Linked DNA regions of Homo sapiens: regions 2, 3 and 4 are each linked to region 1. Evidence: promoter capture Hi-C in 16 types of primary human blood cells and fetal thymus (Javierre and others, 2016). All regions are on one chromosome and are shown on one strand. The core of a region is centred on a gene start or on the middle of the fragment in contact, and the rest is flanking DNA. Distances in the headings are between cores, read along the strand shown. Region 1 holds the start of FXYD6-AS1 (FXYD6 antisense RNA 1). Region 2 overlaps SCN4B (sodium voltage-gated channel beta subunit 4). Region 3 overlaps TMPRSS4 (transmembrane serine protease 4). Region 4 holds the start of LOC105369517 (a long non-coding RNA gene).

Region 1 (7,006 bases), core at 2,207-4,706:
GCAGCCCTTGGGAACAGTGAGAGGTTGAAGGTCATAACGAGAGTGGGAACTCAACCCAGATCCCGCCCCTCCTGTCCTCTGTGTTCCCGCGGAAACCAACCAAACCGTGCGCTGTGACCCATTGCTGTTCTCTGTATCGTGATCTATCCTCAACAACAACAGAAAAAAGGAATAAAATATCCTTTGTTTCCTAGTGGCTCGGAGGTGCTTTCCTTTCTGTGAAAGAACTTGAGTGTTTGTAGGGTCTGTGGAACTTAAAGGGCTAGAGGGAGTCCGTCCATGGTCAGAGGGAAGAGGAAGGACTGGATAGCCACCCAGGCAGGCACAGAGCCCCGTCAGCTGCTGTCACTGTTGCCTCCTCCCCGCTTCTCTTCCCTCCTTTCCTTTTCTTCCTTCACTTTCCTCTCCTCCTGCTCAGCCCTTCGTCCCGCACCTTCCCGCCATTTCTATTCCTCCCTCCCTCTCTCCCGCCTTCCCAGGCCACTGGGCTCAAGCCACATCCCATAGCAGGACCTGTACATTGCACACTGTCTTGGAGCAAAAAAGGGAGTCACAATGGCTTCTCCAAGTACTCAGTGGCCTGGAGTAAAACATCCTAACATTTCTCTTTGGTCAGTTCTGGGGCCACTACCTAAGGACTTGTAAAGAGAGCCAGGGGTGGTGACTCATACCTGTAATTCCAGCAACTTGGGAGCCTAAAGCAGGAGAATTGCTTGAGGCCAGGAGTTCAAGACCAGCTGGGCAACATGGTGAAATCTTAGCTGGGCATGGTGGCTCGCACCTGTTGTCACAGCTACTCGGCAGGCTGAGGCAGGAGGATTGCTTGAACCCTGGAGTTCCAGGTTGCAGTGAACCGTGATTGCACCACTGCACTCCAGCCTGGGCAACAGAATGAGACCTTGTCTCTAAAAAGAAAAAAGGAAGGAAGGGATCAAGGGAGTGACAGGGTGGGTGACGTGGATTGTGAAATACCCCTCCTCTGTGGAGCCTCCCTGGGCATTAGGTAGAATCGAATCCCTTTTTTTTTTTTTTTTTTTTTTTGAGATGGAGTTTTGCTCTTGTCGCCCAGGCTGGAGTGCAGTGGCGTTATCTTGGCCCACTGCAACCTCTGCCTTCTGAGTTCAAGCGATTCTCCTGCCTCAGCCTCCTGAGCAGCTGAGATTACAGGTGCCTTCCACCATACCCGGCTAATTTTTATATTTTTAGTAGAGACGGGATTTCTTCATGTTGTCCAAGCTGGTCTCGAACTTTTGGCCTCAAGTGATCTGCCTGCCTCAGCCTCCCAAATTGTTGGGATTAGAGGCGTGAGCCACAGCGCCCAGCCGAATCCCTTTCTTGTGCCCCAATCACACTTGTTTGCTGCCTTTATATTCACACTTCATACTTGGCATCCAGACTGTAGAGACCAGGCAGGTAATGCCAATATGTGAATCTGCTGGAGTGACGATGGGGCATGGCACCTGCAGTCACCTACGGTGTCCTCCCAAAGACACTCTGACTCAACTTTCTAAAAACCACTGTTGGCCAAACCAACACAGATGTGGGCAGATTCTGCGTGGAGGTTGCCTGTGTGCAGCTTCTGCCTCTAGTGTTTTGTGTCTTTATTGATACAATTCCTGGAGGGCAAGGACTGTGCCTGCTCTACAGAAGCCTGGAACATCTTAGGGTCTTGAAAAAAGAATCGACCCCTGGAACGTCTTAATATCTTCCATCTTGAAGCCAGCACTTAAGGAGCGGGACCCTCTGGGCCCACCTCCTTCCAGCCCCAACTTCTAAGACCCCAGTGAACCTGGCACCTGAAGCTATAGCAGGAGACAGAAGTCAGTGCTCCTTGTGGTTTCGATGGGCCTGGGAACCACCACCTTCCCTGCCCAGTGGCCACACAGGCCCTGAGTCCGCCTGGATTCCGCAAGTTGTTTAGAACCGAAGAACCGCACAGATCCGCTTGCTCGGTGCCTTCTCTACGTGTGCTCTTGCTTCTGCCTTCGGTCCCCCAGGCCTTTGGAAAGACACAGGCTTATGGTAGAGCTCAAGCTCAACCTGTCAACCCAGTGATCATGGCGATTAAAAACTATCTGGTCACAGCAAGACCTGGTAAATGAGCTTATTGTTCGGGAACACTCGTGATACATCAGGGAATTGACAGGCCTTGCAGAAATTTCATAGCGAGGCCAGGCTGAGATCCCTAGAGGCCCTAGACATGCAAAGCTTTGTGTGTGCCGCCCCCCATACGTTAGTAAAAACAGAACATTATACTTCGACATAGGAATAAGGAAGTCCAATGAGGAGGTTCTAATTTTTCTCATAATAATTATGTTAAGAGTAAGGAATGATGGTCAGCATCTCTAGCACATCATCTACAAATGGTTATCCTTACTTTGCCCGCCTCTAAGCACTCACTTAGTTTTCCTCCTAGTAATCCAGCTATATTCTGAGATTGGTCAGAGATACAATCGTCCTGGTCCAGGTTACACAGCTGGGGGATGGAGGAGCTAGGACTTGACCCCGGGCTGTCTGTCCATAGTGCTTGTCAGCACATGGCCTAGCCTCCTTCAGCAGGCAGATGCTCAGAAGAAGGGACAGTGATCAGATGGCTCCCAAGACTGCACCTGGAGCATGGCTGCCCCTTCAAGACATAAACTAGCTGGACCATGCTCCAAGGAGCCTCCTGTGGGAGTCTAATGGTCTGGAAACAAGACACATGAAGAACAATCGAAGAAATGATGGTCAAAATGGTAATAATTAAAAAAAATGAGCAGCTGAAGTTTATGGAGCACTTACTATGTGCTTGTTTGAGGACTTCACACAGATGAGCTGGATCAGAACTCAGAGTGCTATATATCTCCATGAGGAGGACCAGGAGTGTCCACTCAGCCTCCAGGCATGTGGCACTGGTTTGTAGCTGTGATTTGGTTTAATGAGGCAATGTAGCTTGACTGAATAAGAAGGACAGCTGCCATGCTGTGTCATTTCCCAGAAGGGAATCCCAAGTTCCCTGTCTCAGTAACCTCAGGTGTCCCACACCTTTTGCCTCCCAGTGACTCCCTCCACCCCCCATTCCATTTCGAAGATCTCCATGTCTCTTTGCCTGGAGGTTTTCTGCGTTACTTACCCCTGCTGTAGGAATAGGTCAGTCTGCCTTCTGGGACCCCAGGTGCTGTGGCCCTCCTACCTCTCTGTTTTTTGTTTTTTGTTTTTTTTTTGCAAGATGTAGATTAGAACTTGCCAAATTGTTCTTGGAAGAGAGTCAGAGGCAGAGTACAAGCTGTAGGGAGCGGTGTGAGGGGAGTGCCAGGCGAAGCACACTCCAAGGTCACCGGGCTGTTGGCCCCTTCCTCTGGGAGGAGGGCCTTACCTTGCTTGGAATCATGGGCTTGGCGGGGAGGCTGGGCAAAGCAGGGGTGGGAGAGCACTCCAGCTCTGTCTGGTTCACCCCACCTTGTTCCTGGCTGCTCTGCCTCACCCTGGGCCCAGCGAGAGAAAGGTCAGGTGTGTTTGCCTGAGCCAGGGGAGGAGCTTTGGAAAAACCTGTCTCCAGGCCACAGAGAAGGAATGGCCACCTCTCTCCATTAGTGTGATTTATTGCTGTCACAGCTGAGCTCCAGGGGGGCAGACTCAGCCGGCTCAAGCCAACCAGCTGTTGATCTGATGGGGCCAGCCCAGCCCCGGGCCTGGTTGCACAACAGTGGGGCACCTGCCAAGGCAATGATGGCAGAGCAGGTGATGCTGTGATCGCATGTCCTGAAGGACCTGGATGGCAGGGACTGGAGGGGGTGGGCCCCCCTGCACTATCCAGAAGAACGGTTTCCTACCTCTGAGCTGGGCTTGGAGGCAGTCTGGTAGAGCCTGAGGCTCAGAACATCCCCGAGGTCCCTTCTGCTCTAACAGTGTGAGCTTGGAAAGACCCCAGCCTCTCTGTCAGTTTCCTTTTCTGAATAATCAAGTCCTTCCTAGCTTTGGGGTAAGCTGGGCCTCCTGCTCACTGTGTAACCCTGGAAAAGCCACTTAAGCCTCAGTTTCATCACCTATAAAATAAATGCATCAAGATGTTTTCTGTTATCTCACAGGGTCAAAGTGATACAATGGACATCGAAGCACCGTGACAATTCTCCATGTAGCCATTATGCTATAAATGTTGGCATCACTATCCATTTCCTTGTCTCCTCATTCTCTGATGGCCGGGTTCCTCTTGTCTCTGTTAGACTTGGGTTCATGTTCTGACCTGTTTGCAGACCACCTGCAGTGTCCTCTGTAAAATGGGCATCTCACAGCCTGCCTGGCTGAATTGTTGGGAGGCTCTAAGCAGCTCTTTGGAACCACTGAGACCCTGGAATAGGGTGGAATTGCTGCCAAGTGTGGAGAGTGGGCACCAGGCTCAGTGCAGGTACAAACGTTTAACAGCTTACCCGACCTGAGGCCTCAAGGAGGCCAGGGACTTGGCAATCTGTGCTATAAATGAAGAGAATGGTGACACGGCCACATGCTGGCCATTCAAGCCATGTCAGTGGCATCCGGAAGGTGGTGGAGGGAAGGTAAGAGTAACCAGGGGTGGGCTTGCTCCGCGAGGTCTTCCCGGAGGTGGCGAGCCTCTCCCAGAGGTGAGAGGGAGTTTGGTTACTGGGAGGAGAAAACCAAGAAAAGCTGGAGAGGAATGGGCTCTGTTGTGGTTCAAGCCTGGATGTGAGTTCTGAGAACAGTCAAGAATGCATTTCTCTCCAAGGCATTCACTGTGGGGGAGGTGGGTCAAATGGGTTTGCCCTTGTCACCAGCTGGTGACCTTGACTCTCAGAGTACATTGCCCTTTGGCAGTTCTCAGAACCTCTGTGCACCATGGCTCAGGCCTTCTTGAAGCCAACACTTAAGGAATGGACCCTCTGGGGCCCACCTCCTTCCAGCCCTGCCTTATAAGACCCCAGGGACCTGGCACCTGCAACCATAGCAGGAGGCAGGAGCCAGCGTTCCTCAGGATTCAGGACCTCTGAGTGGGACAAATGGGGCTTGGGAACTGCCACTTTCCCTGCCCAGTGGCCATACGGGTTATGCAGCTGAGGACTGACTTGGGCCTGGGGTCATGGCTTTCTAGGTGCTTCTGGCTTCTGCTTCATTGGAGCCCCTTTCCAGCTGCAAGCCAACACCAGGAGGAACTGATCTGGGGACCTGGAGTTCAAGGCTGTAAACTCCCACAAAGGCCAGAGCTGGCGGAGCTGGAGAACCCCATTCTGGGAAGCTGGTGGTGAGGGCCTCTGCCTTTGATCACCAGGAAAACAGAGGTCAGCTGGATTCCAGCCTATTTCCTCCCTGCCCCACCAACCCAGCAACGACCACCCCAAATGACTGCCCTGAGACTTAGGAGTCAGGAGACAAAAGGGAGGCCTGCCTAGGGGAGACAGGGGAGATGGAGGCCTCGCCACTGAGGGCACGGTCCCATCAGCTGTGACAGTGCTGACGCATCCAGGAGTGGGCACTGCCTCTACCTCCCAACATCTCCCAGAGCTCTGGGTCTTGCAGAGAACAGGAGAGCACAGCTGGATGCTCCTTTGTCTCCATCCTGGAACCATTAGACAAAGGAGGTTTCTTGGTTTTGTGTGGAGAAGAAAGGGAGGCTGGAGATGCAGGGTGAGTTGTGGCCAGCAGGATCATACCAGGGCAGGGTGCTCCCAGAGGCCTGCTTTAGAGATCACCGCAACTGGGGACTGAGCCAAGGGAAGGGATTGCTGTGAGTGTTCTTGTCTCCTGGGGGGCTCAGTTCGGAGTAAGGAAAACACAGCCATCAGTTTTTAGGACCTTCTCTGGCCAAACGCTTGACCTACCTTGCCTCTGTTCCCACAACAATACTGCAAGGTAGGTGTTATTACCCTATTTTACAGGTGGGAGGAGACCCAGAGGGGTGCCCTTGCCCAGGGTCAGGCAGTCCTCAGCAAAGTCTCAGGATGAAAGGGGATTTATGCATGGGTGTGTCTGGCCCTCAGGGTGCCTTGCGTGGTGTCTAGGAGGAGAGACCCTCCTGAACTGAGCTGCTCTCAGGAACATGGGCCACAGGTGGAAGGGCCGCAACCTCTCTGCAGGAGAGCAGGTGTCTCAGAGAGGGGTTCCCTGTCCCCAGTGCTAGCTAGGACCCATGACCTGAGCTAGCTGGGGGAGGACAGGAAGGAAGTCTGAGAAGGACTTAAACATGAGTGAAGCGAGAGGGGTGGGACCTGCTTGACTTAACAAATGCCTGGGCTTCCCCCAAAGAACAAACAGGACAATTTCTGAAAATTGCTGCTGGGCTGGAGAAGGAAGGGGAGGTTAGGGGAGTGGGGGGATGGGGTGCAAGAGGAGGGAGAGAGAACCCCGAGAGGGACTCTGGGGGAGCTGTCAGCAAGGTGAGGGTTGCTGCCTCTGTGAGGGCAAATCGGGTCTTGTGACTCCTCACAGGGCAGGCGACAGCATGGAAGGAGGCTGCCTGAGGCAAGTCCTAGGTCTGCCTGCAGCATGGGAGAAGTGATTTCCCCTCTATCCTGTCCCCATCTTTGCCTGATTTTTGCCTGGGACTGATTCATTCATTTAATAAAACTGGGTCCCACGATGCACTGTTCCAGGCATGGGGGAATGAACAAACAAACAAAAATCCTTGCTCTCCTGGTGCTTACATTTTAGTTGGGAGAGGGACAAACAAGATAAGGGAAATACATACCTTAGTTAAGAACAAGTGCCACAGAGGAAAAGCCAGGCTGAGGCAGTGGGTGTGAACATTTTATACAGGGATGTCCAGAATCAGGGCTTTGAAGAAAGCCCTGAAGGCAGCGTGTACCGAGCAGGAAGCCCTGTGGAGGCTGAGCATTTAGGAAGCGGGAACAGCCGGTGCGGAGGTCCTGGAGGGTGAGGGGTGTCAAGAAGGCCAGCATGGCTGGAGCAGAAAGCAGGGCGGGGAGGTGGGGGACCAGCTCACAGGTGCCTAGAGCCAGAATGAGAAGGGCTTCTTGGCTGGGTGCGGTGGCTCGCGCCTGTAATCCCAGCAGTTCGG
Region 2 (3,571 bases), core at 428-2,927, 310 kb before region 1:
TTACCAAAGGACTTAAGGAGCCTTTGAAAAAATCAGTGAAAATGTAAGATTCCATGTACAGAGACTCTAAAATGAGAAAACTCTTCTAGGGAGATGGGAACAAAATTCTTCTGTTAGGAATTTCTGAAAATTCAGATGGAGGTGATGTTTTAAAAGTTTGAAAAGGCAGATATGGCCTCCCAGGGAGCCCTAGGATAAGTTCAGGTATAAAAATAGACATCTATAAGGGGAAGGGGAGGGAAGATGGGGGAGGTACGGAGGGTGCAACCCTCAGGCCCCAAATTTTTGGAACAGTATCAGACAGGCTCCAGAGCAGCATGTGGTGAATCTTGCAAAACTAGAGCAGGGAAAAGGCATTTGAAAGTTGTGTTCTGAGCAAGACAGATGCGACGAGATGGCTTCCCATTGGAACAGAGAGGGTGATGGTAACCACGAGATGCAGAGAATGGAGAACTCCTCTGCCCCTATTTGCTGAAACATTCTGCTCTGCTGAGAAGAGGGAATTCTGCTGTAAAGGGCAGAACTTACTCTAGAAAGAGGGGATGGAAGTTGGAGGTAGGGAGGGGCCATACAGGTAGCAGCGCTGGGGCTGGGGAGCAGGGGAGGACCCCAGAACTGGGTTGTCGATGAAGAGCTCAAGGGTTGTCTGCCTGCCTTGTGGCCAGAGGCTGTGAGGGTTTTGGTGATCGTGAGAGGGGCTAAAAGCGTGGAGCTTAATTAGGTTCTGTTTTTCATAACCAGTCTTACTATCAATGGATGGAGAACAAATTTGTCAATATATGGTTTAAAAGCACTTAGAAAAGACAACGGTGGTCCTTCAGAGCCACAGTGGGTTCATCAAAAACAAGACATGCTAAGCTGGATGTGTGTGCCTGAAGTCCCAGCTCCCTGGGGGGCTGAGGCAGGAGGATGCTTTGAGCCCAGGAGTTTGAGTCCAGCCTGGGCAACTTAGCAAGAGCTCGTCTCTTAAAAAAAAAAAGAAAAAAGAAAAAAAAAAAAGGAATGCTAGATGTCTCCTGATAAGGCACTGGCAGAACAGGAGATTGCTCTGGAAAATACCACTTCCTGTCATTCATCAAATGCCTACCATATGTTAGGAATTCCACCAGGCAATTTTATACACTACCCATAATTATTATTTTACAATTGAGCAAAGTGAGGCTCAGAGTAGTGAAGTGACTTGCCCAAGGCCACACAGCTAGTAAGTGATAGAGCTGGGATTTGAACTGTGACTAATTTGGCTTCAAAGCTTAAACCATTGCCAGGATGTTCTACTGACTCACTGGGCATATCTAGAGTTCATTCATTTATCTGTTCATTTTGTGGCTGTTTTTGAGGCACTGTGCCAGATGCTATAGGAAATTATGGAAGGAATGAGATTCTGCCTTTAACTAAAGAAGACAAGATACAAATAAATGTGTATACAAATAAATGTAATACAAGGTAGAGGGGATCAGTGCCAGCAAAGAGGTTTGATACGATGCTGCTGTGGGGGTTCAGGGCAGGGTGAAATTCTGGGAAGGATTTCTGGCTGAATGGGTGTTTGTGGCAGGCCTTGCAAGATTAATATAACTTAAGCCCTGGGGAGAGTAAAGGGAAGATTCTTCCAGATGGAGGCACCACTGAGAGCCAAGGCAGAGAGTCTGGGAAGTGGGCTTGTCTGGAGAACAAGCCTTTTGTTTGTTGAGAGAGCTGTATGGTGAGGTGGTGGGGAGGAGAATAAAAGCCTGCAGAAGGGGTTGGGGACAGACACTTGGGGACCTGGGAGTCGAGGCTGTGATTGACTTCCGACGGCAGGGGAGCTGGCGAGGGCTTGCAGGGCCCTGGCACGATCAGAGAGCACAGAAGAAAGGATCTGGCCATGGTGGGCGGAGGGATTGGGTGGAAGAGCCTGGGGGCAGGGGACAGACCGTAGGGAAGCCTGAGGGAGGTCCTTGGAGTGGCGGGGAATGCCTGCATTACAGCAGAGACAGTGGCTTCTCAAGAACAGGGAGGTACTGGACAACATCTCACCATTGATTCTGAAACGTGGGTGCTGTTTCCTCTGTCTGGAATTTACCCTCTCTCTTTTCCTGCTCATCTTTCTTGGTTTCAAAGAAGCTTGGAAGTTTAAGGTATACTTCCAAAAAGCTTCCCTGACTCCTATGAGGAGGCTTCCTAGGTTGGGTCCCTCCTTCCTACATCCCCCATCCTGTTATTTACCACAGTGTGTCACAATCACTTGTTTAATGTCACATGCCCTAGGAGAGTGCACGTTTCCGACACAGTGCCTGGTACCCAGTAGGTTCTCAGTAGAGAATTATGGACTGCGTGGAATACAGTTCGGTGGGTCGTAATTGGCTGGGTTAACTATGCCTTAGGTACAGAGACAGAAAGAAAGAAAGAGAGAGAGACAGAGAGAGAGAGATGGATCCATCCGAATAGAGGTCTTTAGTGTATTCCACAGGGCTCCACCTGTTCATTGTTATTACTAACATTTGAAGTACACTAGGGATGTCACATTTATCAACTTCCAGAAGCCTAGTAACTATGTTGGAAGAAAAAGGGATCTAGGAAGATCTTGATAGGCTGGAGCTAGGAACTAGGTATTGCAAGATGAAATTAATGAGGACAAAATATTCAGTCCTTCCCAAAGGCCTCAAACCCAGCTGCCCAAGCCCAGGGTGAGGGTAGGATGTAGTTTGGCTGTAGCAGCTGTGAAAAACTTGGCCATTTTCATGAGCAGAAAGCTCAGAGGGATGCAGGTGCTCCCTGGGGAGTTCTGTGTGCCCAGCCTGGGCGCTGCTGTGGAGGAGGGACACACTGAAGTTGGAGCATGTCCAGCTCAGAGCGGTCAGGGTGGAACGCCTCCCGGGAGGTGTCTTCCCATCTCACCATCTCTCCTTCCTCCTGTCTTCTGCTCCGTCCCACCAAACTCTGCCTAGACCTGTCACCCTTGAAGCCAAACCCACTGCCTGCTCTGCCCCTTCCATGGACTCTGTTCTTCCCTTAATACCTCTAGTCACGGAGAGCTCAGGGAGGAAGGCCTGGGGGGCCCTGGGGAGAGGGACTCTGTGTCCTCAGCATACTCCTTGCTGGCCTGGACCCCTCCCCCTGGCGTGGCACAGCCTGGGAACTGACCCCTGAGAACAGCACCTGGTGCCCTTTGCTTCCTGCCATGTTGAGACAACTAGGTGACAGCTAAGCTTTATTGAGAACTTTCTTTTTTTCTTTGTTTGAGACAGAGTCTCGCTCTGTTGCCCAGGCTGGAGTGCAGTGGCACGATCTCAGCTCACTGCAACCTCCGCCTCCCAGGTTCAAGCGATTCTCCTGCCTCAGCCTCCCTAGTAGCTGGGACTATAGGCGCCTGCCACCACGCCTGGCTAATTTTTGTATTTTTAGTAGAGATGGGGTTTTGCCATGTTGGCCAGGCTGGTCTCGAACTCCTGACCTCAAGTGATCTGCCTGCCTCGGCCTCCCAAAGTGCTGGGATTACAGGTGTGAGCCACCGCACCTGGCCAGTTGAGAACTTTCTACATGGCAGGCACTGTTCTAAGTGCTCATTTCTCCTTCCAGCAACCCCACGCAGAAG
Region 3 (7,006 bases), core at 2,539-5,038, 280 kb before region 1:
TGAGACCGGCCTGGCCAACACAGTGAAACCCCATCTCTACTAAAAATTCAAAAATTAGCCGGATATGGTGGCATGTGCATGTAATCCCAGCTACTCGGGAGGCTGAGGCAGAAGAATCACTTGAACCTGGGAGGTGGAGATAGCAGTGAGCCAAGATCCTGCCACTGCACTCCAGTCTGGGTGACAGGGCAAGACTCAGTCTCAAAATAAGAAGAAGAAGAAGAAGAAGAAGAAGAAGAAGTAGACAGAGTGTGTTTAGACTTACCTACATTTTCACAATTGCCTCACTATTGCTACTTGCTTCTTGGTTCTTCCTTTTAGGATCATTTTCCTTCTTCCTAAAGTAAATGCTTTATATATTCTTTTAGAGAAGGTTTGTTGATGGTAAAGTCTGTTTTTGTTTTCTTGAAAATGCCTTTATTCTTGAAAGATAGTTTTGTAGGGTTCACAATCCCTGATTGATTGTTATCTTTTGGCATGCTGGAGATATACTTCCACTGACTTCTAGCTCCTTTATTGCTGTGGGAAAGCCTGTTGTCAGTCTAATTGTGGTAGATTTGTGGTACTGTGGGTGGTCTGGGTTTTCTCTCTGCTGCTATAAGGAGTTTCTTTTTGTCTTTGGTGTTCTGCAGTTTCATTATAATGTACATAGGTGTGGATTTATTCTAATTTTTCCACCTTGGTTGTATGCGTGTACACTATGGTGGTGTATGTTCTGTGGATTCACACCTTTTATCAATTCTGGAACATTCTCAGCTCTTATCTCTTTGGTACTGTCTCTCTCTCATTGTCTTGATTCTCTCTTTCTGGGATTCTGGATATGTTAGAATTTACCATTCTAGGCTTCATTGCTCCTGGCCTTGTTTTCATATTTTTAATCTCCTTATCTCTCTCTGCTGTTAAGCCTAGTCACTTCTTCAATTTATCTTCCAGTTCATTTGTTCTCTCTTAATTGGTGTTTTAATTGTTATTTACCCCATCCACTTAGTTTTTTATTTTTATAATTATAGTTTTTATTTCTAAAAGCTGTATTCAGTTCTTTTTCAAATCTGCCTGTTATTTTTGCTTGATTATTAAGATATCCATTTTTAACAGAAAATAGCAAGTGTTAGGGGGGATATGGAGAAATAGTAACTCCTGCAAACTGTTGATGGGAATGTAAAATGGTGCAGTCTCTATGGAAAGCAATATATCAGTTCCTCAAAAAATTCAAAATAGAATTACCATATGATCCAGCAATTCCACTTCTGGGAATATACCCAAGAGAATTGAAAGCAGGGCCTCAAAGAGATACTTGTACACCCATGTTCACAGCAGCATAATTCACAATAGCCAAAAGATAGAAGTAACCTGAATGTTCGTATAAACAATAGAATATTATTTAGTCTAAAAAGGGAAGAAATTCTGACACATGCTACAACATGGGTGAAACTTGAAGACACAATGTGAAGTGAAATAAAACAAGTACAAAAAGACCAATACTGCATGACTTCACTTAAATGAGGTACCCAGAGTAATCCAGTTCACAGAGACTGAAAGCACAATGGTGGTTGCCAGAGATTGGGAGGAGGGGGAAATGGAGAGTTGTTTGATGGGTACTGAGTTTCTGTTCTGGAGATGGATGGTGGTGATGACTGCACAATAGTGTGAATGTACATAACACCACTGAACTATACACCTAAAAATGGTGAAGATGGCAACTTGTGTTATGTGCATTTGACCACAGTTAAACATGATTTTAAAATGTGGAACTAGTATTCATTTTTTATTCAAATATTTTATAAATTATCATATTGGAGGCCCTATAGTGTGGTAGTTTACAGCATGAACTCTGTATTCCAAGTGCTCACGTTCAACTTACAGTCTATAATCTCAGGCAAGGAGCTTAACCACTTTGTGCCTTAGTTTTTTTAATCCATAGAGTGAGGATAAGAATAATACCCATCTCACAGATTTCTGTGAGTATTAAATGAATCAGTACATGATGAAGCACTTACAATAGTGTCTGGCACATACAAATACTCTGCAAATATTGCTTATTATCATAAGTCTCTAATATTCTGACATCTGAAGCCTTTGGGGTTCTAAATTAGCTGTTTTTTATGCTGCCCACTTAAGGTGTTTTTTATTTTTCAACGTCTCTGATCTTTGATTGTGAGCTCATATTTGGAGGATCTTTGGGAATCCTGAGGCTCTAAATTTGGGAAATTTTCCTCCAGACCATCTGCAATTTGAGACCACATTTACTGCCATCAGTTATCCCTGCTTCATGTAGGAGCCCTGGTTCAGCTCCCTTGTCTTCAGTGTGTCCAGGTTTAGCTCCACTGCCAGCCTTCATATAGGTCTCGACCCAAGATTTTAGTGTATTGCTCCCAGATCATCACCTTAGTTTCCACTCACAGTTCTGATGGTTTTGTTTTATTTTGTTTTGTTTTCTGGGTTTCTATTTTCTTTGTTTTTGGCATTTGAGGAATTCTGTTGTTTCCTAAGAACCTAGTACAGTATGAACAAGTATATTTCATCTAGGATCTGACTTAACTATAGCAAGACAGTCCTCAGAAAACCCAAGCTTTCATACAGATGCCAAAAAAGTCCATGGGGTTTAATTCTTTGACCATTTTGAGTGCAGGGACTTATTCATGCTTACATCCTCACAACTCAGCTTGGGGACTGCCTCACACCTGGCAGCTGATCCTTTTTGTTTTTTAAATGTAAGAAGCCACACTGAGGGCTCTCCAGGCGGAAAAAGTTAGGACACAGGACCAGCATTTCTTTCCAGCCACTTGTGGATCCCTGATTGAATGTCACCCTTGACTGCCTAACTCATCTCTTTCCCAAGTCATAGGTTATCCCTGGCTCCTGGCTGATTATCACAGGCAGGGAGGGAGGGAAAGAGGCAAAGGGAGAAGGCCCTGTGTGGGACTCAAACTTGCTCACCCTGGTTTCTGTAATCTGCAGCTCACTCTTGCTGCCACTCAGCAGATCTGGTCTCCCTAACTCTTTTTTCCCCTGCCTCTACTTTGAGACTCAATTGCTTCCCCAGGACTTCTTTTCTCCCCAAGCCAAAGAATGAAAGTTCAATCATCCCAGCTCAGTTCTTATCAAGCATTCCAGCTAGCCTATGCCAGAGATGTTACACAGCTCTTTAATAATAGTGGCCATAGCTGTAATAACAATGACAACAGTAGGTAACGGTAGTCATACCAACAGTAGGGCAGTGCATTTTATATTACAACTGGTTTCTTGCTCTAGTAGGCTTGGGGATGGGTGAAGACGGACAGGGCTGGCGCAGACCCTTTCCTTCTCCTCTCCAGCCCACAGTGATCTGGGCTTTTACAAGACAGCCTGCTTCCATTCAGTAGTGTGGGAAAGTTCCTTCTTGGCTTAGCAATACCCCTGAGACCTTGTTCAGTGGGCTGTGTCTCTCCCTGGGATGCTGGGAGCACCAAGTGTGGCCGAGCTAGGGCTGCTGACTTCCTCTGGGCGCCTCTGGGCTGCGAGGGTCTCTTATAGGAATTGAGGCCCTTTGCTGCTCCAAGAAATGCTGAGGCTGTGGGCAGAGGGGTGTACCCAAGGGGACTCTTGCTCTGTGTCTGACTTTGGGGGATCCCCAGGTGGGCAGGGCAGGAAGGAAGCGGCTCCCAGCACTGCAAAGGGGCAGCAGCATTACAGCTCAGCCTAGAATAAGAGAGACCGATGAAGAGAAAGTCAGATTATCTGAAACTGGACAAAGTGGTGACATGTGTAACGTGAGTCTTCCTTTTCTGAAACACTTTGCTTCTCTCCCTACCCTGCAGAGGGCCAGGAGGTCTCATGAGCCTTTCCACTCTCTTCCTTATCAGAATCTTCTCTCTAGAAAGGATCTGATAGTCTCATTCTGTCAGAAAAGAGAAAGAAAGGCTTGGTGTGTTCTATTCCCTAAGGTATTTGCATTTATCAGAAATCTCTGACCTAAGGAATTTCAGCCTTAATAGTGCAATCTCAGGCTGTCCCTTGCTTGGAGGGAAAGTTATTTGGGATGTAAAGAGTTGTCAGAACCATTTAAATCAAACCTGAGGATGGATTGGCACCCCCCAGGTAGAGGACTGGAGGGAAGGCACAGTGGGTAGGGCAAAGGTACCTTACCTTCCAGACATTGTAGATCCAGTTGAGATAGGCTGAGACCTTGGTGTATACTCCTGGGGTGCTCGGGCCCCCGCAGCCATAGCCCCAACTAACGATGCCCACCACATGCCACTGGTCAGATTGGTACATCAGGGGCCCACCACTGTCACCCTGTGAGAGACCAGAACAGAGACTGCTGGGGAGGGCAGGTGAGGTGGGGGGGCTTCTCCTTCTCTGCTCCCTGAACTGGCCTATCTGTTCCCCTGCACTCCCTGCTGCTCTCCGATATTCCACCCTCACCCTCTTTGCTCATTAGCACCCTAGAATGGTCTTCTCTTCTGGGGCAGAAAGGCTTGTCTGTGGACAAGTAAGTTGCAAGCATGCCGTTAGCCTTCTCTCAGAGATTCACAACTCACATTAGCAAATTAAAGGCTCTGAGTGATGTCTTAAAAAAGCCTGGTTGTTGGCCAGGAGCGGTGGCTCACACCTGTAATCCCAGCACCTTGGGAGGCTGAGGCGGGTGAATCACTTGAGGTCAGGAGTTCAAGACCAGCCTGGCCAACATGGTGAAACCCGTCTCTACTACAAATACAAAAATTAGCTGGGCATAGTGGCAGGCACCTGTAATCCCAGCTACTCAGGAGGCTGAGGTGGAGAATCATTCGAACCCAGAGGCGGAGGCTGCAGTGAGCCGAGATCAAACCACTTCACTCTAGCCTGGGCAACAGAGTGAGACTCAGTCTCAAAAAAAAAAAAAAAAGCCTGGTTATCATTGTTTAACCTAGTCGTTCCAAAATTTGTGTAATCACTTATAGAGTGCCTATTTTGTGCCAGGTAGTGTTCTAAGCAATTGGGATCCAACTGATGAAAAAAAACAAAGATCCCTGCCCTCAGAAAGCTTAGGATCAAATGGGGTGAGAGACAGTGAACAAGCAAATAACAAAACAAGAAAATGCCAGATAGTGAAAAGTGCACTTATCTGGGAGTCCTTATCAGCTGTTTTAGCCCCTGGGGCTTCCTCCCTCTGAACCCAAAACTATAGCTTAAATGTCTGTTTAATGCCCCCCTTTCCCCCAACCACTGTGAGCTCCCTGAGGGGTCTCCAAAGACTACCATGTTCATGGCACACATGCGATGACTAAGAGATGCCTCTTAAATGAAGGAATTTAATGACTGGAAATGGAGGTGAGAGTAGGGTAGGGGTTTTAATGAAAATGGTTCAGGCCAAGCACGATGGCTCATGCCTGTAATCCCAGCATTTTGGAAAGCTGAGGTGGGAGAATCCCTTGAACCCAGGAGTTTGAGACCAGACTGGGCAACATAGTGACCCTGTCTCTGTTAAAAAACATAAAAGAAAAAATAAAAAAAGAAAATAGTTCAGAAGATCCTCTGGAAGTATGGGGGAGGAAGAAGGTCTACAGGGATTGCTAAGCAGTCCTGATGGCCAATGAGGCCGGGGTGAGGGCACACACAGATGTGCTTCCAGCATTCTGCAGGCGGTAATTCTTTCCTAGTGTAGTTCAGCAGCTTGGGGAGAGTCACAGAGAAAATAGACCTGGGATTCCTGACCTCAAGGGGCTAATCATTCTGTAGCTAGTGAGAAGGGTGGGTGGGGTGGATGAGTAATGTCATCTTTGTTGTTGTTGTTGTTTTCAGATGGAGTCTTGCTGGGTCACCCAGGCTGGAGTGCAGTGGCGCAATCTCAGCTTACTGCAACCTCTGCCTCCTGGGTTCAAGCAATTCTCCTGCCTCAGCCTCCCAAGTAGCTGGGATTACAGGCACGTGCCACCACGCCCAGCTAATTTTTGTATTCTTTTTAGTAGAGATGGGATTTCACCATGTTGGCCAGGCTGGTCTTGAATTCCTGACCTCAAATCACCTGCCCGCCTCAGCCTCCCAAAGTGCTGGGATTACAAGCGTGAGCCACCATGCCAGGCCAGTAACATCATCTTCGAATGTGAAAGAGACATTTGAAATCTCTCTGCTTGTCTGCATCCATCCATCCACCCACTCATCTATTGGTACACTTTTATCTGACTATCCTTTCCTTCCCTCCCTCTCTTCCTCCCATCATCACACATTGAGTGCCCATGATATGCAAGGCTTCCTGTAGGGCATGCAGCCTCTGGGTTTTCTCATCTCTCTAGGACCTAAACCCTATTCTTAGAACTCCCCATGATTCTTGGAGGCCCCACCTGGCAGGTGTCCACACCCCCTTCCGGGATGCCTGCACACATCATCTTCTCGGTGACTTCCCCCTGGTACGCATCGTCTGCATTGCACCGTGTGCTGTCAATGACCTGGACTGACGCCTGCAGCAGTATGTCAGACATCTTCCCTGGGAGGGTAAAAACACTCACATTCCCATCCTTGCCTTCTATCCCCCAGCCCTGGATTGCCAAACCACTTTGCTTTCTGCCTGGCGCCTTGGTGCTTGGTCCTCCAGGATGGGTTTCTCTGAAGGGTGGTCCTCCTTCCCATTACTTCTGGAAGCTGCTCCCTCATACAAGGGCATCTCCTGCCCTGTGGTCCTGCACCCAGGACTTACCTCCATTCTGCTTCGTAAAGCCCCATCCAATGATCCAGAGTGGGGTGGCTGGAGTGAGCTCCTCATCAAAGAAGGGCAGACAGATGGGCCTGACTGTGCCTGCCAGGAGCACAGAGGAAGAAGGAGATCTTTTATTCATCATAAGTGTTAATTTTCTGTAAATTATGATGCTTTATGATTATGGGGATCTTGCTGGTCTGGGAGAGACTGGGTTAGCTAATTCCTGCAGATAGTAAACAACTTGGCTTTGGGCACGCCTTTAATAGGCAAACCAGCCAACCCAAAGCCCATATCCCCAACCACTTCCTTTATCTGACTCTCAGACACCAAGCCAATATTTTCCCTGCCCTAAAT
Region 4 (7,006 bases), core at 1,829-4,328, 260 kb before region 1:
CGGGGGTGGGGGTTGGGCCCTGTCATTTACTTAGAGGGTGAAAGTCGGGTACGGGCTGTCACTTACTGAGGACAACCACAATGATGATACTCGCCAGGCTCAGTAGTGCTATGATGATGGGGATCCCCACCTTTCTGAAGGTCTCCATGGGGATACGGGGTTTGCGCAGGGGTTTGACATCTGCAAGAAAATGGGAGGCAGAGGGGAAGAGCATGCAGTCAGCACTTGGTGATCCCTGAGCCAAACTCCACAGCCTCCTGCCTTCTGGCCGGTGACAGGTATGCCTTGAGCACAGTTTTGGTTAATGCTGGGGGGTTATTCCTGCAGACTAGGCTTAGCTTCAACAGCACGTGGTTACCCTGCCTCTTCTTACTTATCCAGGCTCACCTATCTTTCCTGAGTGCCGCTCAAAGGAGCCCCCAGGTCAGGCCACCTCCCCCGTGTCTTGCCTGAGCCTGTCCTAGGACATTTCTGGGTTTTGTCTGACCCTCGCCTGCCCGAGAGAGGCCTGAGCCCCTGGGGCACGTACCCATTCACTGTGCCACCATTTATCCTTTTCCTGACCTCCTGACTTAGCTTTTGATTAAACATTAAGCATCAGGGAGGCAGGGGCCTCCAGCACAGTGTGTGCTTAGTAGAGGCTTAATAAATACTTGTGAATCAATGCATCCTCAATCCCACAAACAGCAAGTCCCTAGCCTGGTCCTTGTCTTTAAAGAGATTACCATCTGGGGGAAGAGGCAGACACAGATGCCAGCCCAGCCAGGTGGAAGATAATATATGTTATAATAGAGACATCTTCAAAGGTAAGCTGGTGAAAGCCTCCCTCAGCAGGTGGCACTTAAATGCAGTTTGGGAGGGAGGCACTGGCTCAGCTCTGTCGGAGGCACGGAGGGTGCCTGTAGGCTGCCTGGTGTGCCTGGGGTACCAGGGGAATAAAGGCAAGTTGGAAGGCAGGATGGGTGAAGGCAGCTGTGGAGACTCTTGAACATTATGCTAAGGAGCCTGGGTTTTATCCTGAAGGCAGTGAGGAGCCATTGAAAGTTTTTGAACAGTGGAGAGACAGGATCAAATTAATTTTAGGAAGATGGATCTGGTCCAGTGCGGTGGCTCACGCCTGTAATCCCAGCACTTTGGGAGGCCGAGGTGGGTGGATCACCTGAGGTCAGGAGTTCAAGACCAGCCTGGCCAACATGGTGAAACCCTGTCTCTACTAAACATACAAAAATTAGCCAGCATGGTGGTGCATGCCTGTAATCCCAGCTACTTGGAAGACGGAGGCAGGAGAATCACTTGAACCCAGGAGACGGAGGTTGCAGTGAGCTGAGATTGTGCCATTGTACTACAGCCTGGGCGACAAGAGCAAGACTCCACCTCAAAAAACAAAAAGAAAGATGGATCTTTCATCAGGGAGGAGGTGGATTGGAACAAAAGAGTCTGGGGTTAGGGAGACCAGGTAGGAGCTTATCACTGCCTAGAACAGAGGTGATAATAACTACATTGTCAATTGCACATGGTTATCCAAGGAGAAGGAACCTGGGAAAGGGAAAACATAGGCAAAGTTAATATCAGTAAGTATCAGAGATACATTCTTTTAAGTCCCCCACTCCTTGTGGGAAATAAGCTGGGGAGGTGCCATGGGGACTTCTGCCCTGGGGGAGATGGGGCAAGAATTCTGGAAACCCTGGAAAGCAACGGACCGGCTCTCCTACCCTCACCTCCACATGACTGGCTCCCTGTCCTCCTCCCAGTCTTTCTTCACTGTCACCTTCACAGTGAGGCCTTCCTGGATCTCCCTATTTAAAATGCAGCCTTCCAACCTTTCCTATCCTCCTTTCTTGCTTTTTTTTTCTTCCAAAGCACGCATCACCTCTAACAAACTCTATATTTGACTTATTTTGTATATTTTCTGTCTCCTCCCGCCCCTCCATGAAATGAAGACTCGTTGAAGACAGAACTTGTCTGTTTTGTTCACTGCTAAGTCCCTGGTGCCTAGAACAGTGCTTGGTCCACAGCAATTGCTCAACAAATATTTGTCACCTGAACAGATGAATTGTTCTTGGCTCTGCTCTCTTAAGTACGTCCCTTCTACTACCTCCTTTCCTTTCCTTTCCTTTCCTTTCTTTCCTTTTCTTTCTTTCTTTCTTTCTTTCTTTCTTTCTTTCTTTCTTTCTTTCTTTCTTTCTTTCTTTCTTTCCTTTCTTTCTTTCCTTCCTTTCTTTCTTTCTCTTTCTTTCTTTCCTTTCTCTCTCCCTTTCTTTCTTTCTTTCTTTCTTTCTTTCTTTCTTTCTTTCTTTCTTTCTTTCTTTCTTTCTTTCCTTCTTTCCTTCTTTCTTTCTCTCTTTCTTTCTTTTTTCTCTCCTCTCTCTCTCCCTTTCATTCATGGAATCTGCTGCCCAGGCTGGAGTGCAGTGGCAGTGGCATGATCTTGGTTCACTGCAACTTCCACCTCCTGGGCTCAAGCCATCCTTTTACCTTATCCTCCCAAGTAGCTGGGACTACAGGCATGTGCCACAACACCCAGTTAACGTTGGTATTTTTTGTAGAGATGGGGTTTTGCCATGTTACCCAGACAGGTCTCAAACTCCTGGGCTCAAGTGATCCACCCCCACCTTGGCCTCCCAAAGTTCTAGGATTACTGGCATAAGCCACCATGCCCGGCCCCTTCTACCTTTCTTACAGGTCACATTTTATTCTGCCTTGAATGATGGCTAATCATATGTCTGACTCTATTTCTTTCCTCAGCTCTTCCAAAGTGGAGAATGGCATCCTGCTAGAGATTGGCGCCCAATGAATGCTAGTATTAATGAATCTGTTAACAAAGGAAAGCTTAGGACACTTTGTGTTTCCCCAAAAGAATGTTTTAACTTCAGACACAGAGGCCACGCAGTGGGGATGTGGACTGGAATGGTATTGCCTGTGAACTATGACCTGGCACAAAGTAGCTTATCAGTAATGTTTGCCAATACTGTTTTTAAAGTTCCAGCAGCCAGTCTTCAGAATTGTCCTCTTTCCTGTGGCCATGGCCATGATGACATTTTGTTCATGAATTCATGCATGATTTATTTATTGAGCATCTACCTCTGGGAACATGAGATTTGTTTGTTTTCTCCAAGAGTGAGTGACCCATGGGGAGCCATGGGTTCCTGTGTCCAAGACCAGACATTCTCAGGGAGCATCTGCTTCCCCCATCAGGAAGGAACGAGCTTTCATACCTAGTTTAAGTTAACGAACCCAGTGAGCTATGAACAGCCTCCTTGCCGGCTGTTGTTCCTCCCTCCAGCCTGTCCTGCCCACTGCAGCTAGACAGAGCTTCCTAAAAGCTTGCTTTCATCCTGTCACTTCTTACTCGAGGGCCTACAAGAGACTTCCACATCTGGATTATATCTTTCAAAGCCAGTGTAATTTGGCCTCTTTCTCTGAGCCAAATGGACTTCCACTGCTAGTCTTCACCAACCCCAGTTCTGCATAGTCACGTTCACTCCCTGGTCCTCGAGCAAATTCAGCTTGTTTTCTGGTTTGAGAGTTCTCAGGCTTGCTCAGGTGGCGGAGCAGTTGGCACCCTGGTGTTCCTTGGGGACACCATGGCCTACTCTTATATTGAATTCCAAAGTATAAACTAGGCACCATTTTACTTGCTAAAGATTACTTCATTTGTGGTCATTATTAACTCATGACCCAGAACTGAGAAATACATAGCCCGTCAAGCAGGATTGGCCATTTTCTTACTGATCTGTTCATATTAACGTGTTCCTTGCTCATTTGTTTTGCTGATCCAGTAGGCTATCAGGAGTAGATATTAATGGTTTAAGAAAATGTAATGGAAGAAAAATACCTCCTTAAATTTGGGATCATTCTATTTATTAACTTAGTTTTCTTCCCTTGGAAATCAGGCAAGCACTGCCATTTTTCATGAAAATGCCTCTGGCCAATGTGAACTCCATGACACCAGGGACTTCAGCTGTCTTAATTAGTGTTATAGCCCAGCATCCAGCCTAGGGCCTGGCACATGGCAGGTACGTACAGTTTTACTGAAAGGATAAGAGTGACTGAATGAATGAATTGGAGAATCATTGCTTTGGGGATTTTAGGTTTGTTGGTCCTGTTTCCCCAGAGTCCAGGCCTCCTACTTCTGGAATGAATCCTGGAATGTTTGCTGAGTGATGGATGGACGGGTGACTGGATGTCACTCATGGCACTTAGCACTTTGGTGGTGGTGGTGAGGGCCAGGCGCGAGTGGCTTAGGATCTACTTGGTAGCTGAAACTCAGAGGCTAAGGTGGACGAATGAAAGCCGGACCTGAACTTACCGAGGCTGTTCAGAGGTTGATCACTGTCAGGATCCTGTAATTGAAGGAAAAACAGTCAGTGAGTTGAGGCAGGGAGCCTCTCAGGCTGGGGCTAGCAGCCTACGGGAGGTTCTTGGGTCTTGTCTACATTCCCTTCTCCCTGAGTCTACGTTGGGGGTCTCTGTGTTATCCAAATACCTGGTTCAACAGGAAACATTCAGTCATGCACCTGTTTGATCTGTTTCAATTAGTTTACTTATTAGTTTACTTAACTAGTAGCAACTGGTTAGCAATTGTAGAAGCAACTGGCTGCTGGTTTTTGTGTAAATTGCTGAATTCCTCAAGATGATTCTGCTCTACTATCTGTTTTTGTCAATAATTTGTCTATGTTTACAGATACTATATTTCTGTAAAAACTCTGAATAGACATCTTACAAAAAGGAATACTCAACTGGCCAATAAGTACCAAACAATGCTTAATATCATTACTTATCAGGCAAATGCAAATTCAAACCACAATAAAATTTCTCTACATAAATACTAAATGGCTAAAATTTAAAAGACTAATAATACTGTGTTGATGATGATGTGGAGCAACAAGACCTCTCAGACCTTGTTGGTGGGAGTGTAAAGTGGTACAAATACTTTGGAAAATGGTTTGGCTGAATCCACTAATGCTAAACGTACAAGTATTTTATGATTCTCTGACCCAGCAATTGTGCTCCAGGATAGAGCCAAGAGAAATGAGTACAAATGTCCAGCAAAAAACCTGTGTGTGAAAGTTTATAGTCGCTTCATTAGTAATAGCTAAACATTGGAAAAACCCAAACGTCAGTCACTGGTAGAGTGGATAAACTGGTATTTTCATATAATAGAATATAATTCAGCAATAGACAAGAATAAACATTCTCAGTGCAATGACATGGATGAATTCCATGGACATAATGATGAAGGGAAGAAAATAGTCACAAAAAGTACGATTTCACTTATATAAAGTTTAAAAGGCAAGGTTAATCTATAGTGATAGAAGTCAGAATAGTGGTTACCATTGGGGGGGGCAGTTAGTTATTGGAAGGAACACAGTGGAGTCTTCTGGAACATAGGAAAACTTCTGGATCTTGTTTTCAACATTGGTTACATAGGTGTTTATATGTGCAAAAATTCACTGGGTGGTAGACTTTAGACTTGAGTACTTTACTACATATGTGCTATCAACATTATGATATTTCTGAGAGAGTGGTCTTAGGCTGCCGTCGACGCATGTGCACAAATACACGCAAAGGCATTTCTATTTACACCACTTCATGTGTGCACTCAGCACGCACACAGCCACAGAGTCACATGGAGGAGCCACTGACACAAAGGCTCACATACAAAAAAATGCAGGCCCTTTCTGCCAGGCAAAGGTTAAAAGGAGCATGCTGTCTGGGTTTATGCCCTCTGAACCCTGTGGTCTAGGTCTCCACCCAGGGACTCGCCTGCCCTATTGTGCTGAGGTCATGACCCACCTTGGTGGTGGTTGAAGGAGTCACAGGACCTTGTACATTTCTGGCTGGAAATTTTTTCTGTTCCTCTTGGGAGTGAGAGGGCCTCTTTTAATCCCTGAGTGGGTGACCCAGATTAGATATGGAGGGAGGGTCCCTGGGTGTTGCTTGCTCCACGGCTAAGCACGGTGGACACAGCAATAGGAAGGAGCTCTTTCGTTCCCTCCCAAACGAGCCTGTAGTCTGATGGAGGGACATGCCTGGCCTTGCCCTTGGGTAACACTAGGCCATGGGTGGCCTTGTGATGTAGCACACAGCCTGGTTCTGCAGTCTGCAGGGGTCGAGTCAGAATACAAGACCGGCCTCCTATTAACTGTGTGCTTTCAGGAAAGATCCTTCACCTCTCTGAGCTCCAGGCTTACCCTCTGTAGAGTGGGGACAATAAAACCTGCTTCAAAAGACTACTGTGAGGTTTACATGAGTTGTCTGGTGGGAAATGCTGGGCTCTCACATGGGAACTCTCTTTCCTCTGCCCTCCCATTGAAACTGCCTTGGCAAAATGATGACTGAGACAGTGAAAGAGATCTAACTTAGCGACTCCATCTTGCTTCTAACCTCCAAACTGTCCTTGTTCATTCCTAGGGGTAGGCAGAACTAACTTTGGGAGAAACTTAGTTTATAGTTTAAACAAAGTTGGTAACAGCTCTTTCCCAGAGCAGACTGCCTTCTTGTCTGGGGACTAGACTAACGTTAGCCCCAAGATTAGAAATTATGGTTTAGGAGTCATGCAGCTGGAGGTTACAAGATTCTGACCCTCCCCAAACTGCTTCTAAGATCAGGGCTTGAGATATTTTGCAGACCCTGCACCTGACGGATCAGCTGGCACCACCCAGATCAATAAACTGCCTCATCTGATCTGGCGGCCCCCGCCCAGGAACTGACTGAGCGCAAGAAGACAGCTCCAACTCTATATGATTTCATCCCTGACCAATCAGCATTCCTGGCTCACTGGCTTCCCCCCACCCACCAAGTTATCCTTAAAAACTCTGCTCCCTGAATGCTTGGGGAGATTGATTTGAGTACTAATAAAACTCCAGTCTCCCACACAGCTGGCTCTGCGTGAATTACTCTTTCTCTATTTCAATTCCCCTGTCTTGATGAATTGGTTTTGTCTAGGCAGCGGGCAAGGTGAACCCCTTGGGCGGTTACACCATCCTCTGCACTTCTGTAGCAT

Evidence for each region. The method cuts DNA at HindIII sites, captures the fragments that hold promoters and counts their contacts. A CHiCAGO score of 5 or more calls a contact.
Region 2: a fragment that was not itself captured here is called in contact with the fragment with the promoter of FXYD6-AS1 in region 1 in 10 of 17 cell types (naive B cells, M0 macrophages, M1 macrophages and 7 more); the score reaches 7.8 in naive B cells.
Region 3: a fragment that was not itself captured here is called in contact with the fragment with the promoter of FXYD6-AS1 in region 1 in 2 of 17 cell types (total CD8 T cells and naive CD8 T cells); the score reaches 6.4 in total CD8 T cells.
Region 4: a fragment that was not itself captured here is called in contact with the fragment with the promoter of FXYD6-AS1 in region 1 in 2 of 17 cell types (non-activated CD4 T cells and naive B cells); the score reaches 6.2 in non-activated CD4 T cells.

The regions. Positions count from the first base shown.
Region 1 is chr11:117,830,168-117,837,173 of GRCh38, reverse strand. It overlaps FXYD6-AS1 (FXYD6 antisense RNA 1), which reads right to left and starts at 3,456. Exons shown (of 3, transcript NR_186291.1): 1 at 3,113-3,456; 2 at 672-905; 3 at 1-6. The region is part of intron 6 of FXYD6-FXYD2 (FXYD6-FXYD2 readthrough); the gene reads left to right. It overlaps FXYD6 (FXYD domain containing ion transport regulator 6), which reads left to right. Exons shown (of 8, transcript NM_022003.4): 8 at 1-193. The HindIII fragment of the contact is 9,424 bases long and covers 2,211-7,006 here.
Region 2 is chr11:118,137,317-118,140,887 of GRCh38, reverse strand. All of the region lies in intron 4 of SCN4B (sodium voltage-gated channel beta subunit 4), which reads left to right. Among named protein-coding and RNA genes, the nearest start is that of SCN4B, 14 kb to the left of the region's middle. The HindIII fragment of the contact is 851 bases long and covers 1,252-2,102 here.
Region 3 is chr11:118,114,574-118,121,579 of GRCh38, reverse strand. It overlaps TMPRSS4 (transmembrane serine protease 4), which reads right to left. Exons shown (of 13, transcript NM_019894.4): 10 at 6,653-6,751; 11 at 6,300-6,442; 12 at 4,126-4,275; 13 at 1-3,678. The coding sequence ends at 3,667. Among named protein-coding and RNA genes, the nearest start is that of SMIM35, 31 kb to the right of the region's middle. The HindIII fragment of the contact is 2,433 bases long and covers 2,572-5,004 here.
Region 4 is chr11:118,092,159-118,099,164 of GRCh38, reverse strand. TMPRSS4 (transmembrane serine protease 4) reads right to left here. Exons shown (of 13, transcript NM_019894.4): 2 at 4,310-4,349; 3 at 67-180. LOC105369517 (a long non-coding RNA gene) reads left to right here and starts at 187. Exons shown (of 4, transcript XR_007062904.1): 1 at 187-278; 2 at 719-806; 3 at 3,894-4,016; 4 at 6,631-6,878. The HindIII fragment of the contact is 494 bases long and covers 2,832-3,325 here.